Linked DNA regions of Homo sapiens: regions 1 and 2 are each linked to region 3. Evidence: promoter capture Hi-C in 16 types of primary human blood cells and fetal thymus (Javierre and others, 2016). All regions are on one chromosome and are shown on one strand. The core of a region is centred on a gene start or on the middle of the fragment in contact, and the rest is flanking DNA. Distances in the headings are between cores, read along the strand shown.

Region 1 (4,865 bases), core at 205-2,704, 500 kb after region 3:
CGATGACTCATTGGATGGGACAGAAGAAGAGGATGAGGATGAGATGGAAGAGGAGGAGGAGGAGGAGCTGGAGGAGGAGGTCGACGAGCTGCAGACGACAAATGTCAGCGACCTGGGCTTGGAACACAGTGACTCCCTGGAGTAGTCGGGCAGCCCAGATGGCACTGATCACTGAGCAGGAGAGGAGTGTCGCCGGGAGGCCTTCAGGGTGGGGGGGAAGGGGACATGGGCAGGAAGCACCGAGGGAGTTGGGCCCTAGCTTCCCCAAATCAGTAGCTTGAAGAAAGGCAAAGGAGACACCTGTTCCTTCCCAACCACCGAGCTTCAATGAGGACCCCAGCCCCACTTCCCTGGAACTGCCGAGGACTCTGTTTGGCGGGGCCAGTCGAGCAGCCTGTGTGGAAAGACAGGAGTGAGATCTGGACTCACCAAATCCCTGAGGATAGATGGCACCCATGGCCCCCACCCACGGAAGGACTTGAGTTGTTTACAAGCCCTGCACTGAGGCAGATTGGTGCTGTTCGCAGAGTAGGCCTTTGCCCGGGGGCAGACTTAGAAGGAAGGGGAGAGACAAAGGGGGACTGAGTTTCATCCCCAGAAGTTTCTCAGCTCCTTTGACAGACATTCAAGGGCAGGAGGGAGCCCCAAAGCATAACCAGTGGCCAGAGGAGTGGGAGGGCCTGAGGCATCACATCTTGCAGATCAGAATGGGATGGAATCCACCAGGCTCCAGCTCATCCCTCCAAGGCCCTGTCTCTGCGCACAGCAACCATGGACATGGGAGAAAGGGATGGGAGCCACAGTGCCCTTCACTCTCTCCTGGAAACCAACTGTAAGCTGGTGGGCTCAACCTGTGGGAGGTTAAGAGGAGTCCCTTCTGGGTTGACTCCAAGAGCCAAGGAGATGGCAGACCCTGGGCTAGGAACCATATGGAGGTGACTTTGAGGCCACAGCTGTCCCTAGGTGATCACAGAACTTAGCTCCTTTAACAACAGGACAATGGTTTTTTACCCTAGATGTTCCCACCTTCAGTGCTCCACGCCCTCCATAGACCTTCAGAGAAGGTGAAACCAGGTTATCTGGGAATCTTTCCAGCCCGCAGGTCGCCACGGCCATCCCTTTGCTCCCAGCCTGGCTCCATCAGCCTCCAGCTTCCTTTCTTCATTCTGTCCTTCAGGGAAGGCAGAAGAAACATTGGAAAGCATCTAGTCCAGTGGGAAGCCAGGGGTTGGAGAAGGTGCTACATCCCTCTTCCCATCAATATCCTAAATGTGGGGGAGGGCCCAGAGAATGGCACCCAAGAGCCTGCGGGGATGCCCATCCCACACACCCCACCCAGCTGTTCTAACCCTGCTATCCACAGCCCTGGAGGAACTGGGGCTCCTGGAAGGAGGAGGAGGCTCTCCACTGTCCACCCTAACACATACCCTCCCACCCACCTTCCAGACCCCCTTGGTTGGCACCCTCTCCTCCGGTTCCCTCTCACCCCATGGCTGTGAATGACAGGACAGGTCACACGTGTGTTTTCCATTGGGTTTAATTTAATGGACGTGCAGTTTCATTTGTAAATTGTGCATTGGCCACCTCCTTCAGTGGCAGGATGTGAGTGGCTACCTGGCTCAACTGGAGGGGACCCCTTGGGCCCTCTGGGGCTTCCCCTCCCCCACCTGGTTGGGGTAGAGCAAAAGGATGGTCACTCTTCCGAGGTCTCCCTGAAATGAATGTATTTCTCCCCCAAAAGAGCTGATATTTAATGTTTTAATAAGGATTTTTGAGAAACAAATAACCTTATTTATAATCTGGGTGATCCAATCATTTTTTACTCCCTTTTGATGCCATACATAGAGGAAAGTCTAGCTTTTTTGGCGTGAGACTTTTGCAATGTGCAGTGGGATAAAATGCATTTCCTTTTCTGGTTCGTTTTTCTTGTTAACACGCGCACACAGACACACACACACACCGTTCCACTCACCACCTGGACAGGCGTCCCCCAGCACGGACACACTGGCACACAGGTGCCCACATCTCTTCCTCTCAGCCCCTCCACCTGCCTAATGTTATGCAACCTCCTTCTGATGTATCCACCAAACCAGTACTGAATGTGGCCGAGACGTTTTCAGTAAATCTTATTACCTACCGTAACCCTGGTGCACAATTCTCTTTCTGTGGTTGCTGTGGCAATCCTTTGCTCTTTTCATGGGACCAGAGGCCAGACAAAATTTGGAGGCCTCAGTATACACCTGACTACCCAGGGAAGGGGACAAGGTAGATGTGCGTCCTGCGTGAGCTCAGCTGCCCTGTCTGGGGAGGAAGAGCCAATTTCAGCACACTCACCTTGTGTGCGGCCGGTTGTAAGGCAGAGCTAGGGAGAGAAGGCAAGGAAGCTCTGCACTGCCCTCTCCTGACAGCTTCCCCGACCGCAGCGGAAGCTATGAATCTGGTCCCTCTTGTCCACCATACTCCACCTCCCTCAAAGGCTTTTGCTTTCCTGTCTCCATTCCCGGCCTTGAATCCCAGGGATCAGCACCATAATCCCCCAGGCAAGAAGAAACTCAGGCAGCTGATCTCCACACAGAAGTGAGAGGCAGGCCTTCTTGTCAGCTCCAGACGAGAGGGTACCTTCTTTAGCCACACTTGCTGAGAGGTCTGGGGCATCTGTTTAGAAGCAGGAAGGGAGTGCCTTGTTCATGTTCAGGAATGCTGGAGAGTTTGCACGTACTGGCAGATCACCCCATGGCCAGGTGGAAGATAGGGAAGCCAGTGGTTGGTTACACAGGCGAAGTGGGCTCTGACCAGCTCTGGTGGAGTTCCCTGCATCACTGCCCTCAGGGAGCCCAACATCTCTCCCCCTCCTCACACCTGGAGAGAGTTCTGCAAACCCTACAGAAACCCCGCCTCTCTAGGTAGAGGAAGAAAATCTTAAGAACTGCACGATGATTGGAACCTCACCTCCAGAGCTGGGAAGACAACAGTCCTTTAAGACAGTGGTTTCTAAGGAACACACTGTTGAAAGATATGCTACCAAAAAAAAAAAAAAAAATCCATGCCCAAATTAGCCTAAGATTAACTGCATATTCTGTTTTGTTAGTAGAGTTTCATCATGCACATTATTATACTAAAGGCTCTAAAAAGTCCTACAGGAAAGAAACCTGTTGAACTTTGTTTCAATTGTTCCGAGATTTGCTCCACCTCCCTTTTTTTCAAGTAATATCTATTCAAGTTATACCAATATTCCACAAAACACACTTTAGGGAACACTATTCTAAAGAAATTGCAGAGTAGCCTGTCCTACACTCTCCCCGCCAAGTTTTTCTATCAAGTTCTGCCAGCCATCTTTTCAACCACGCTGCCAACTGAAAGTGGGTTTCTTTTTTCTTTTCTTTTTTTTTTTGAGATGGAGTTTTGCTCTTGTTGCCCAGGCTGGAGGGCTGGAGTGCAATGGCACGATCTCGGCTCACCGCAACCTCTGCCTCCCGGGTTCAAGCGATTCTCCTGCCTCAGCCTTCCAAGTAGCTGGGATTACAGGCATGAATCAACACACCCTGCTAATTTTGTATTTTTAGTAGAGATGGGGTTTCTCCATGTTGGTCAAGCTGGTCTTGAACTCCGGACCTCAGGTGACCCACCTGCCTTGGCCTCCGAAAGTGCTGGGATTACAGGTGTGAGCCACTGCGCCCGGCCTTTTAAAATTATTATTATTTATTTATTTATTTATTTTTGAGACAGGGTTTCACTCCCATCACTCAGGCCGGAGTACCATGGCACAATTTCGGCTTACTGCAACCTCCGCCTCCCAGGTTCAAGTGATTATCCTGCCTTGGCCTCCTGAGTAGCTGAGACTACAGGCATGCACCACAAGGCCCAGCTAATTTTTTTGTTTTGTTTTGTGTTTGCAGAGATGGGGTTTTGTCATGTTGCCCAGGCTGGTCTCCAACTCCTGAGCTCAAGAGATCTGCCTGCCTCGGCAACCCGAAGTGCTGAGGTTACAGGCGTGAGCTACCACTCCCGGCTGAAAAGGGGTTTCTGAAATCACTTGAGATGTAGGTAGTTGTATTTTTAGGAGCCAACAACCTCTCTCTGTGCATGACCCAAATGCTGCCCAACCCAAGGAAAAGACACGCCATAATCCCTGTGGAAATTCAAGAGATGGATGACAGGGCGAGGGGTAGGGGAAGGTTTCCTTTACCCAAAACCGAACTCTGATATCAGGGCTCTGGCAACTCTCAGACTGACTTCTGCCCCCCACCCCCCGACCCATCAGGAAAGACTTTTCAAGCTCAGAGATCCTGCTCATGGGAGTTGGTGGCCAGAGCTCAACTTCCTTGACCGAGGATCCCCTCTCCTGCCTTGCATGGGGCCCCAGGAGGGCAATGACCACCACACTGCAGCCTGCTCCAATTCATTCCTGATGAGTCATTCATTATCTCAGCATGCATTTATCAAGCCCCGACTCTGTCCCAGGCACTGTTTTACAAGAATACACCTGTGGCTAACAAGGACAGCGTTCTTTACTTCAGGGAGTTTACATTCTACTAGAAACAACTGAGACTGGGCCAGGTACGGTGGCTCACACCTGTAATCCCAACCCTTTGGTTGTCCAAGGTGGAAGGATCACTGAGCCCAGGATTTTAAGACCAGTCTGGGAAACATAGTGAGACCCGCCCCCACCTGCCCGCATCTCTACTATTTTAAAATGAATATGCATGAGAAAAAAGAAAAAGATTGAGACTGAAAGAGTGCTCGTAGCATCCTTGTAATGGCTATAACTATGATCTCATCCTTACCACAGAGAACTCAAACTTCTTCATTCAGAGTTGCAAAGCAGGAAGCTTTCAGCTCCACTGTGAGGTTCAGGTTAAGCTCAA
Region 2 (4,273 bases), core at 83-2,582, 470 kb after region 3:
AGTGAAAGGACAATGCATGTGGCTCAGTGCGCAGCCAGGGTACGAGGAGGCGGGAAAGTCAGGAGGATGTGCTATGTGCTGCTCCTGTTGTATTACTCAAACTTGCCCCTGCATTTTCTCTGACTGCCACTGCCTGCTTTGCTCAGGCTTCAGGGGTAAATACGGTAATTACACATAGGCTATGGCAGGAGCTTCCTAACCTGCTCTCCTGCCTTCTCTGGCCATCCCTCGGCCCACTTGCACACTCACACGTCTCTTAAGCCTTCCCAGGACAGGCCCCTGTCATTATTGCACTAAGGTAGGGGCCGGGCTTGCATGGGCTCTCCCAGGAAGGAGAGGCCCAGGGCTGCTAAGAATCGGGGACCGAGACTTTCAGTGCAGGAGGCAGGTCTTGGGTTCAAGACACAGGAGCCTGTATGAGAGAGAGAAAAGGAGCTTGTGAGTGTGTGTGTGTGTGTGTGTGTGTATGTGTGTGCACACGCGGGCACATGCATTCGTCATGGTTCACCCTTAATCCCCCCGGCCTGAAATAGCCTGAGCACCAGCCTGGCCTGGGGAGGGGTGTCTCCCCTCTGGAACATGATCCTCTGGATCAACATTCCAGCCGCCTGCCAGCTTTGTTGCAAACTGCTGGCTCATGGTTTTCCCTGTGTGCTAATCATCCAGCCTTGTGTTGCAAAGCGGGAGACATTTTTGTTTTCAACTTGGTATCCCCACTCCCAGATGCTATGCCGTGTCCTCCATCCAGATCGATGGGTTGAGCGTTTTCCTGCTCGGCCTTCGATTTCTCTGTGTGAGTCTTCTCTGCTGGGCAAAGTGGAGATGGGAAGTAAGGGAGACTGTTCTACCAAGCAGGGGACTAAAGCAGACTTTCAAAGACCTGGGCCACAGCTAGATTTTCCCCCTCCCTAGGAACCCATCCTGTGCTGCAGGCACCCAATGACACCCAGGCTTCCTACTCCTCAGAGCCCAGGCTTCTTGTGGGGGCAGGATCCTCTGTAAGGAGACTGGTTCTAGACCCTACTCTGGGTTCTCCTGTCCTTCCTAGAGGGCGCAAATGGAACCATTCCACTAGAGAGACACCTCACTCAAGTATTAGTTTGACCTGAAATTCATCCTTTTTTCTCTGTGGAGATTTAAGCCTCAGCTCTATTCCAGGCAAATTGGATTGAATCATGGTTCTCATTCAATTGCCAAGCGTTTGGGGGGCACTCACTGTATGTTCTGTGCTAGGTCCTGTGAGAACAGACACAAGCCATTGTCCAAGAGGAGCTCCCAGTCTCAGGGAGAGAGAGCCATGAGTCACAATGAGGATCTAGATAAATCATGTCAGCCGTGAAATGCTCAGGGTCAAGAGTACAGAGGAAAGGAGCAGCCAAAGAGATGGGGAGAGGAGCTGCAGGCAGGGATTCTGGATTGGGTGATCCACATGTGTGGCTTGAGGTTGCCCCAGTCTCAACTCAGCATCCTTCATCCTTCCTCAGAGGGGGACCAAGTCCCAGACCCAGCCCTCACACCTTCATGGCCAGTTTGTTCCTGCTCCACAATAGGATAAACAAACCTCAGTACAGAGTGGAGAGGACAACAGGAGGATTTTGCCCATTGTGATTGGAGAAGTTACAGATTCATTGGCCTTGGGAGGGCTTCCTCTGGGAGGTGGCATTTCAGGCAGGCTTGGTGAGAGTTGGTAGCCTATTTGGCAACCTTTATAAAGGTGAGTGTTTCCAATGTAGCAAGAAGTCTGAAAGAAGGCGAGAAACAGAGAGAGCCAATCAGAATCCCTAGAGAGGAGATGGGGTGAAGGGGGCTCATTCATTCACGCATCCTGCATCCATTCAGGCACCTCTGGAGCCTACTGAGTTCTGGGGATATAAAAAATGGATGCGACACAGTCCCAGGTCTCCAAGTGTAATGATGGAGTACCTTGAAGCCAAATGTGTGGGAGTTCTGTTTTGGGGCTAATAGTGGTGGCCGACTGCTAAAGACTTTAAAGGTAGTGGAGAATGTAGGCAACAGGGTCAGGGCTGGAGACACGCTGGAGACAAATCAATTGAGCAGCCACATCTTGTATTGGTCCAAGAAGAGCTGGCAGAAGGAGGGGAGACGGTGAACATTTATTGAGCTCCCCTCTGTCTCAAACATGGTGTGTACTAGGTGCTTTCCACAGATTATCTAATTTACTCTTCATGACAGGCTGCAAGGTACACATGATTTTCTCCATTTTACATCCAAGAAAAGAGAAGCTGAGAGAAGTGAAGACCCTGGCTCAAAGTCACACACCTAGCAAGTGCTGGAGTCCGGGATGGGCTACTCCAGAGCCCATGTTCTTCTTGCTACATGGGGATATGTTTTTGTGACACATGGGGAGAAGAATCAGGGGTCCTGGGACCTGGGTGGAGAGTGATGACCCTACCTAGCTATTGGTCAGTGGGGTAGGGACTACAGAGGAAGAAGCCAATTGCTACGAAGCAAGAATTTGGATTTGCTAGTAGACTGGAAGTAGGGAAATGAGAGGTACAAAGTTGAGGACATTCTGAGATGCTAGGCCCAGCTGCCAGATGCGACTCTGCAGCTCTGCGCCTCCCCAGCAGAATAGGAAGGGGGCTAATCAATGCATCCCCACCTGAGAAGGGTGGCACTTGCCTATTGACCTCTAAGGAATTTTGGATTTTCCAGATTGGCAGGGGGCGGAAGGGGTAGGGGGCCATCACCTCAGCCAGGACCCTAGAGGTTCTGCCCAGTGGCTAAGCATCCTGAGGACAGGACCAGGGAGAAGACTGGATGGGGCTGGGGTAGGGGGCAATCTACCCTGGAAAGATCACTACTTAGATGGACAGGGGGCATCCCTAGACTGAAGTGGAATAAAATGAGCCACACTGCCTGTCACAGGCATTAAAGCTGTCTCTTCTGCCGGTTCCTCACCCCCAGCCCTGCAGCCGTGGAGCCCAGAGACCAGAGGGTGGCCTTTGCCGCCAGGCTAGTGAAACCTGAGCGCTTCTCCCGCCTGAGAAGGAATGTTCCTTAAGAGCAGCAGCTGCTGCTTGTCCCCACAGGCCAGAACTGCCTTTCCCTTGAGACCAAGGCCCCCAACAGGAGTGGAACAAGAACAGGATTAGGTGGCTTGTTTACATGTGCTTGGCTTTCCCGAGTTTGGGAATCTGGCTTTTCTTGGTCTAAGACAGGGCCCTGGCTCTGCCAGAACGGAGGGATGCTGCCGGGAAGGGGTGTCTGGGGACAGGGACAACCTCTCCACCCTCCTAAGGCACATTTGCGCGGGCACACACACAAACACACACATCACACACACACAAACACACACACACCACCACACACAGGAATACACCCACAGCCTTAGGCCAAAGTCAGACCACACATGTATCTCGCATGTACCATGCACTTAACATTGCGCTAAGCAGTTTCGGGGAATTCAGAGAAAGACCCCTCTTTCCCTCAAAAAGCCTGCCACCAAGCTAGGGAAAGACGACGCCTGCATTAGAGAGAACCATTCTGTTGTGTCCAGTATGTAAGGCAGATGGGAGGCTTTGAAGAGTCCAGAGGACGGGCCGCGGCTGTGCCCTGGAGAGGTCAGGACAAGCTTTCCAGCAGAAAGGAGACATTCAGAACCGACCCCCACCCGCCCCGAGCCCAGGCAGGGGAGCCGCCAGCACGCGCCTTCTGGGAGGCTTTGGTGAGTGTGGTCTGAGCCGGTGGATCAGCAGAGACCTCTAGTGGCCGGGGGGAGGATGGCAGGTGGCTGGGGCTGGCTCCGCACTGCACCCCACTCCGGCCACCGACTCACCGTCACCCACCCTCCCACACAATCCTTAGGAAATGGCATGGGCTCTTTTACAGTCCTCAGCTGGAAGGATCTTTGCCAGGCCATCCCGTTCATTCCCCTGTTTCACAGGCATCCAAGTAAGATAAAAATTCCACCTATTTCAAAACAGCTTAAACAGAAACTTTTCTGTCATTTATCTCCTTCACTCCTTCATGTCTTTGTCCCATTCTGGTTTCTTCCAGGAATTCCTTCCTTGAGTGGAAATGAAGTCTTCCTTGAGTTTCCCAGGGCAGTTCAAGCCCTTTCCCTATTAAAAATGAAGCACGGTGGCTCACAGGGACAGACAGCTCTTCCTGGGCTGACGTGAGACCGCTGTGCATTCATGTGGGCCCCTGCACCCCCCACTTCCAAAAGTCATTCCACAGCTTCTCATCGTTTCTTAGTAAGGCCTTCCTTTGGAACAAGTCATCTTTCTGCTGTTCCAAATGCAATTTG
Region 3 (4,821 bases), core at 691-3,190:
CGGAAGCCTCATAAGTATTTCAATCTAAACATGTATGATACTCATTTTTTTTGTTTAAGGTTTCACACAGCAATCCTCCTTCCCTTCCTAAATCCTCCTACTTCCTACAGGTCACTAGCTCCTGACTTTACCTCTAAAATATTTTCTCAACATGCCTCATTCCTTCTATCTTTATTATAATTTCAGTCCATGTTATTTCTCCTATTTCTCTCTTGATCTATTGCAATAGCTTTTTGACCTGTGTTCCCCTCAAATTCATACGTTGGAGTCCTAACCCCCAAGTACCTCAGAATGTGAACTTATTTGGCAATGGGGTCACTGCAGATCTAATAAGAAGGGATCATACTGGAGTAGGATGGACCTAATCTAGTATGTGTCCTTATAAAAAGGGGAAATGTGGACATAGACATGCAAACACGGGGAATGCCATACCAAGACTGGAGTGATGCTGCCACAAGTCAAGGAATTACCAGAAGCTAGGAGAGAACCCTAAGGCAGAGCCCTCCCTAGAAGCTTCAGAGAGAGCATGGCCCTGCTGACACCTCGATCTCCCACTTCTGGCTTCCACGACTTTGAGATAATGCATTTCTGTTGTTTAAGCCACTCAGTTTGTGGTATTTTGTTATAGGAGCCCTAGAAAATGAATACAAACTTCCTTTCTTATTTTATTTGCCTCCAGTTTCCCCTCGAATGACCCCCTGCAGACTGAGTAAGCTATCTGAAAGGTACATGTAACCCTGACAGTCCCCAAATTAAAAACCGCTCATTCCCTCACCTCTCAATCCCCAGATTACGAGTCTGGTTTACAAAGCTCTTGCCTCACTCAATTCATGCTTTTCTCTCCAGCAGTGATGAACTGCTGGGCTCTGACTAAACACTTGATGTTATTTCAAGCTGTTGACCTTTGCTCATTTCCCAACCCTAACACCCACTTATACTCCTACCTTTTTTCCCCATCTTTTAAAATTCAGTGCACACATTCCTTCTACCAGAAAACCTCCCCCTGATATTCCCACACCCTGTGTCCTACCCTACCAACACCCCCTCCACCAGCACCAGCTTCCTGGATGGGGTAGGTGACCTTTCTCTGATTGCTATGCATTCTCTGCATAATTGACTTATGATAGTTCCTGCAGTTTAGTAAAATGATCTCCACATCTGTTTGCCTCACTAAGTTGTGAATTCCTAGGTGCTCTGTAATTGTGTGTGTGTGTGTGTGTGTATATGTGTATGTACTCATAAATAGGTATATTTAAATAAGATCACTTCTCAAAGGATTGGTAGGGGGCGGTAGAGGAGGTAAGCAGCTATGGAGTGGAGTGAATTATGGATAGGTGGGTATGACTATCCCACATTAGGAGGCTCATTATCTCCAAAGCTTCTTTCATCTGCCTTACTCTTTTACACACAGAGAAGCCAGAGTCGGGGGCTGGGGAGGTATAAAAAGAAAATTTCCCCTACCCCTACCCATCAAGCCCCACCACAATCCCTTGGAAAGAATGCCAGACTGGCCCACGCCAACAAGTCATCCCATACGAAATGGCCCAGTGCCCGCCATCTAATGTACTGAATGCCGTGGGAGCTCCAAAGTCATGCAGCCTTTTGGGGGAAGGGGGTAGGGGCCGCGCGGGAGGCACACAAAATAAAGAAATACGTTCAACGCTAATGCCTGAATTCCCTGACATGTTTCCCACGGCAGCTGAACTCTCCCCCACTCCTGCCCCAAAGGCATTCAGGCCCTCCACTCTCCCCTCCGTCTGCTGTAAAAGCCCCGGGTCCTTTCTTCAGACCCTTTCTTACCCTCTGGCCTCCTACCTGTCTGGATCAGAAGAAGGTAGACAAAAGGAGCAAGGCGCAGGGCCCTGGAGGCTCTGGACAGGGCTCCCCTTTCTCTCTTCATTTTGGGTGGCGTTCTCCAGCTCTAGTGCAGACAATTAGCATGATTTCTCCACTCTGGGCACGTCCCCTTTGTACCACTCGGAGTTTCTCTGCCCGAACACAACCCTGCCAACTTCCCTCTGAATACACAGAGCTCTGTGTATTGCTGGACTTGTTCTTTCCTCTCCCTCAGACCTGGCATTTTCTAGTTTCCAAGCCCTACATCCCCAGTTTGGAAGCAGGTATCTGCTTAGGAGATAATCTCCAACTCAGGTTCCAACATGGGGGGCACCGGCAGCCCAGCAGTTGGTTGCTTGTCTGTGCTGAGCCTCACTACCCAGGGAGATGAGGATCTGGGCTCAGAGCACTGAGCTGGGACACACACTTAACTGGACTTTGTGTCCCAACCTACCCTGTCTCCACCTAACACTCCTTCTCCCTGAGGAGGAGGGTACATGCCAGGACAGACCTCCAATAAGCTCTGAAAAGGGAGGGAGAAGAGATTTTAAAAAGCTGGGAAGTGAAAGACTCCAGACAACTGCTGAAGAAATGGAAAACCCCTGTTCCATCCCAAAGGAAGAAGACTGGAAAACAGCTTGAATTCTATTATTGTTACACTTGTCTTTCCGTGGCTTGGAATTTTCTCTTCTATCATAGAATCACATAGATGCTGGACACCTCTTTCCAGAAGCCACTCTGTTCATTCCCCTGCTTTCAGGCAATTTTCTAGAACATGTCTGAGCAAAATGAAGGTCATCTCCTAACAGCCAGCATCCTAGGGTTCTGTTACCAGCTTAACAGCCTAGCTGTGCCCTCCTGTTTTGAGGCTGTGAAGAGGAGAAACACTCTAGCTCTACTCTGACCCCCATTCATGTGTTCACACCTTTTCATGAGGGCGGCCAAGGGAATGGATGCCTAGTAACTGTGATCTTGGGATGGGCTCGCAACCTCTTTGAGCCTTCAATTTCTCATCTGTAAAATGGGGAAAAGAAGAGCTTCCTTGAGGGGAATTGTTGGGAGCGTTGATGGAGATTTGGTACAGAAGAGTACCTAGCAAATCCTTTGTTACAGAGATGATGTTTTAAACTTTTTAAAAATTGCCTTGTTTCTTTTTTCATTCATGCTGGGATCTTTATATTTTTGGGAGACCAAACTTCACAACTTCCTTCTTGGTCATCCCTAACCCCTGGTCTTGGTTTTGTAAGTGCAGCAATTATCTCTCTAAATATTCTTTTTACATACTGGAGAAAGCCTGAGTAGGTCAACTTTCTAGAACTGAAGCATTATTACATAGCCCTTCTGAGCCTCGGCAGAGGGAGAAGAGTTGGGAAGCACTGAACTTCACAGACCTCTCTGAAAACATTCTGAAATATATAAAGGGGATTCTTTTTTCCTTTTGCATTTCTGTGTTTATGACTTTTCCCTAGACAACTCAAGGCACCTTTCTTCCACTGGAAGAGGTAATGTTATTATAGCAGGTACACAAAAAGAGTCAATATTCAGCTTCTGACATTTAAAATAGCATTTCAAAGTCCATAGCAAGATGAAAGGCTTAGCCAGTCTTTGTAAGGGACAAAAGAGCATTCTAATTTCTTTTATCTACCCCTTGACATATCATAGATCAGCCTGTGGACTGGATCACAGAGTCCTTCTGGAGTGTAGATAAATGGCCTCTTTGCCTGTGATGGCTGGGCCTTGAGGCTTATGGATGGGAGTAAAAGGAGGATGCAGTGTTTGGGAAATAGAAAGCCCGAAGTCTGCCCTTGTTATCCTGAAGCACTGTGGAAAGAAAAATGTGCTAGAGGGAGACTAAAAGGATCTAAGTTCTCAATATCCCCACTTCCCCGCCCCAGAGGTGGCTCTTTATACCTGCACAGAATTTGCAAGGGCTTCTAGGTGTCCAGAAGCCCTTTAGGAGACTCAGAAGTGCCGAGAGGGTAAAGAACTGGCAGGAAACAGAAGATTGAGCAAAGGCACTGCCATGTACGGGGATTCTGAGGCCAGAGGCAACAGCTGGGACCACCTACTGCTGTGGTGGGAGCCTCAGGTAGCTCATCAGGCCAGGAAAAAATGTAGACCCTGAGTAGAGACTGGTGGGAAACCTGAGAATACCACACAGGTCCACAGACACTGTCTCCCCCTGTTGCCACAAGGTTACTTCAGCCACACCATGTATATTTACCCCAACTCTTATTAGAGAGGAGCTGGGATTGGGAGAGGACATTGGAAAGACTGCTTGAGCAATTGCCTGAGCTGTCCAAGCAGAGACTGAGCTACCTAAAGACAGTGTGAAAATGGTTGGATCAGACTGGGCTTACTGAGATGGAGTGATATTTTCCTCTGCTACCCTGGGGGCGGTGAGAGGTTCATGTGGAAGATCACAGCAACTACAAAGACATAAAGGCCTTCCCTTTCCTTTGTACGTTGGAATGTATGAGGAGTAATTTTGCAATCTTGCTTCCAGCGACTGAGTAGGCCTTTAGAAACTTATAATCATCTACTTATGTGCCTTTCTCTCCTAAGAAACAGAGAGCTCTTTGATTTAAGAGCTGTCTTATTTGTCTCTCTGTCTATAGTACCGAATACGGGGCAGGCACATAGTAGGTGCTCAATAGGCAGTTGGCAAATATTGAATGGATAAGCCCTTGCCTTAGTTCCTTTAGAGGGCTTCTCAAGCAGCTGGACAACTGGGGGTTGGGGGAGCAAGCAAGGGAGTGAGGCCACAGTTTGTGGACACATATGAGGCATCCCTTGGGAATTCCCAGAAATAACCGGGGCTCACTTTGAGTGGGGACACTGATCCAATAGGCAATTGATTTACAGAAAGATAAAGTAACAGCCTCACACATGACACAAAGTGTTTATCTCAGCTGTCTTGGCTCGCCTTATGTTATCCTTCCTTGTGTTCTTTGAGTTTTTTCCTCTGGGTGTGTCTGTCTCATG

Evidence for each region. Contacts are between HindIII fragments. The CHiCAGO score rates a contact against its expected background, and 5 or more counts as called.
Region 1: a fragment that was not itself captured here is called in contact with the fragment with the promoter of HEPACAM in region 3 in 1 of 17 cell types (endothelial precursors); the score reaches 5.1 in endothelial precursors.
Region 2: a contact is called between a fragment that was not itself captured here and the fragment with the promoter of HEPACAM in region 3, in 1 of 17 cell types (endothelial precursors). The highest score is 5.6, in endothelial precursors.

What each region holds. Positions count from the first base shown.
Region 1 is chr11:125,431,248-125,436,112 of GRCh38, forward strand. PKNOX2 (PBX/knotted 1 homeobox 2) reads left to right here. Exons shown (of 13, transcript NM_001382323.2): 13 at 1-2,142. The coding sequence ends at 145. Among named protein-coding and RNA genes, the nearest start is that of FEZ1, 63 kb to the right of the region's middle. RefSeq lists a silencer at 2,226-2,520. The HindIII fragment of the contact is 6,745 bases long and covers 1-4,827 here.
Region 2 is chr11:125,401,325-125,405,597 of GRCh38, forward strand. All of the region lies in intron 7 of PKNOX2 (PBX/knotted 1 homeobox 2), which reads left to right. Among named protein-coding and RNA genes, the nearest start is that of FEZ1, 93 kb to the right of the region's middle. The HindIII fragment of the contact is 4,522 bases long and covers 1-3,593 here.
Region 3 is chr11:124,934,107-124,938,927 of GRCh38, forward strand. It overlaps HEPACAM (hepatic and glial cell adhesion molecule), which reads right to left and starts at 1,941. Exons shown (of 7, transcript NM_152722.5): 1 at 1,816-1,941. The coding sequence starts at 1,900. The region is part of intron 1 of LOC107984406 (a long non-coding RNA gene); the gene reads left to right. The HindIII fragment of the contact is 6,598 bases long and covers 1,377-4,821 here.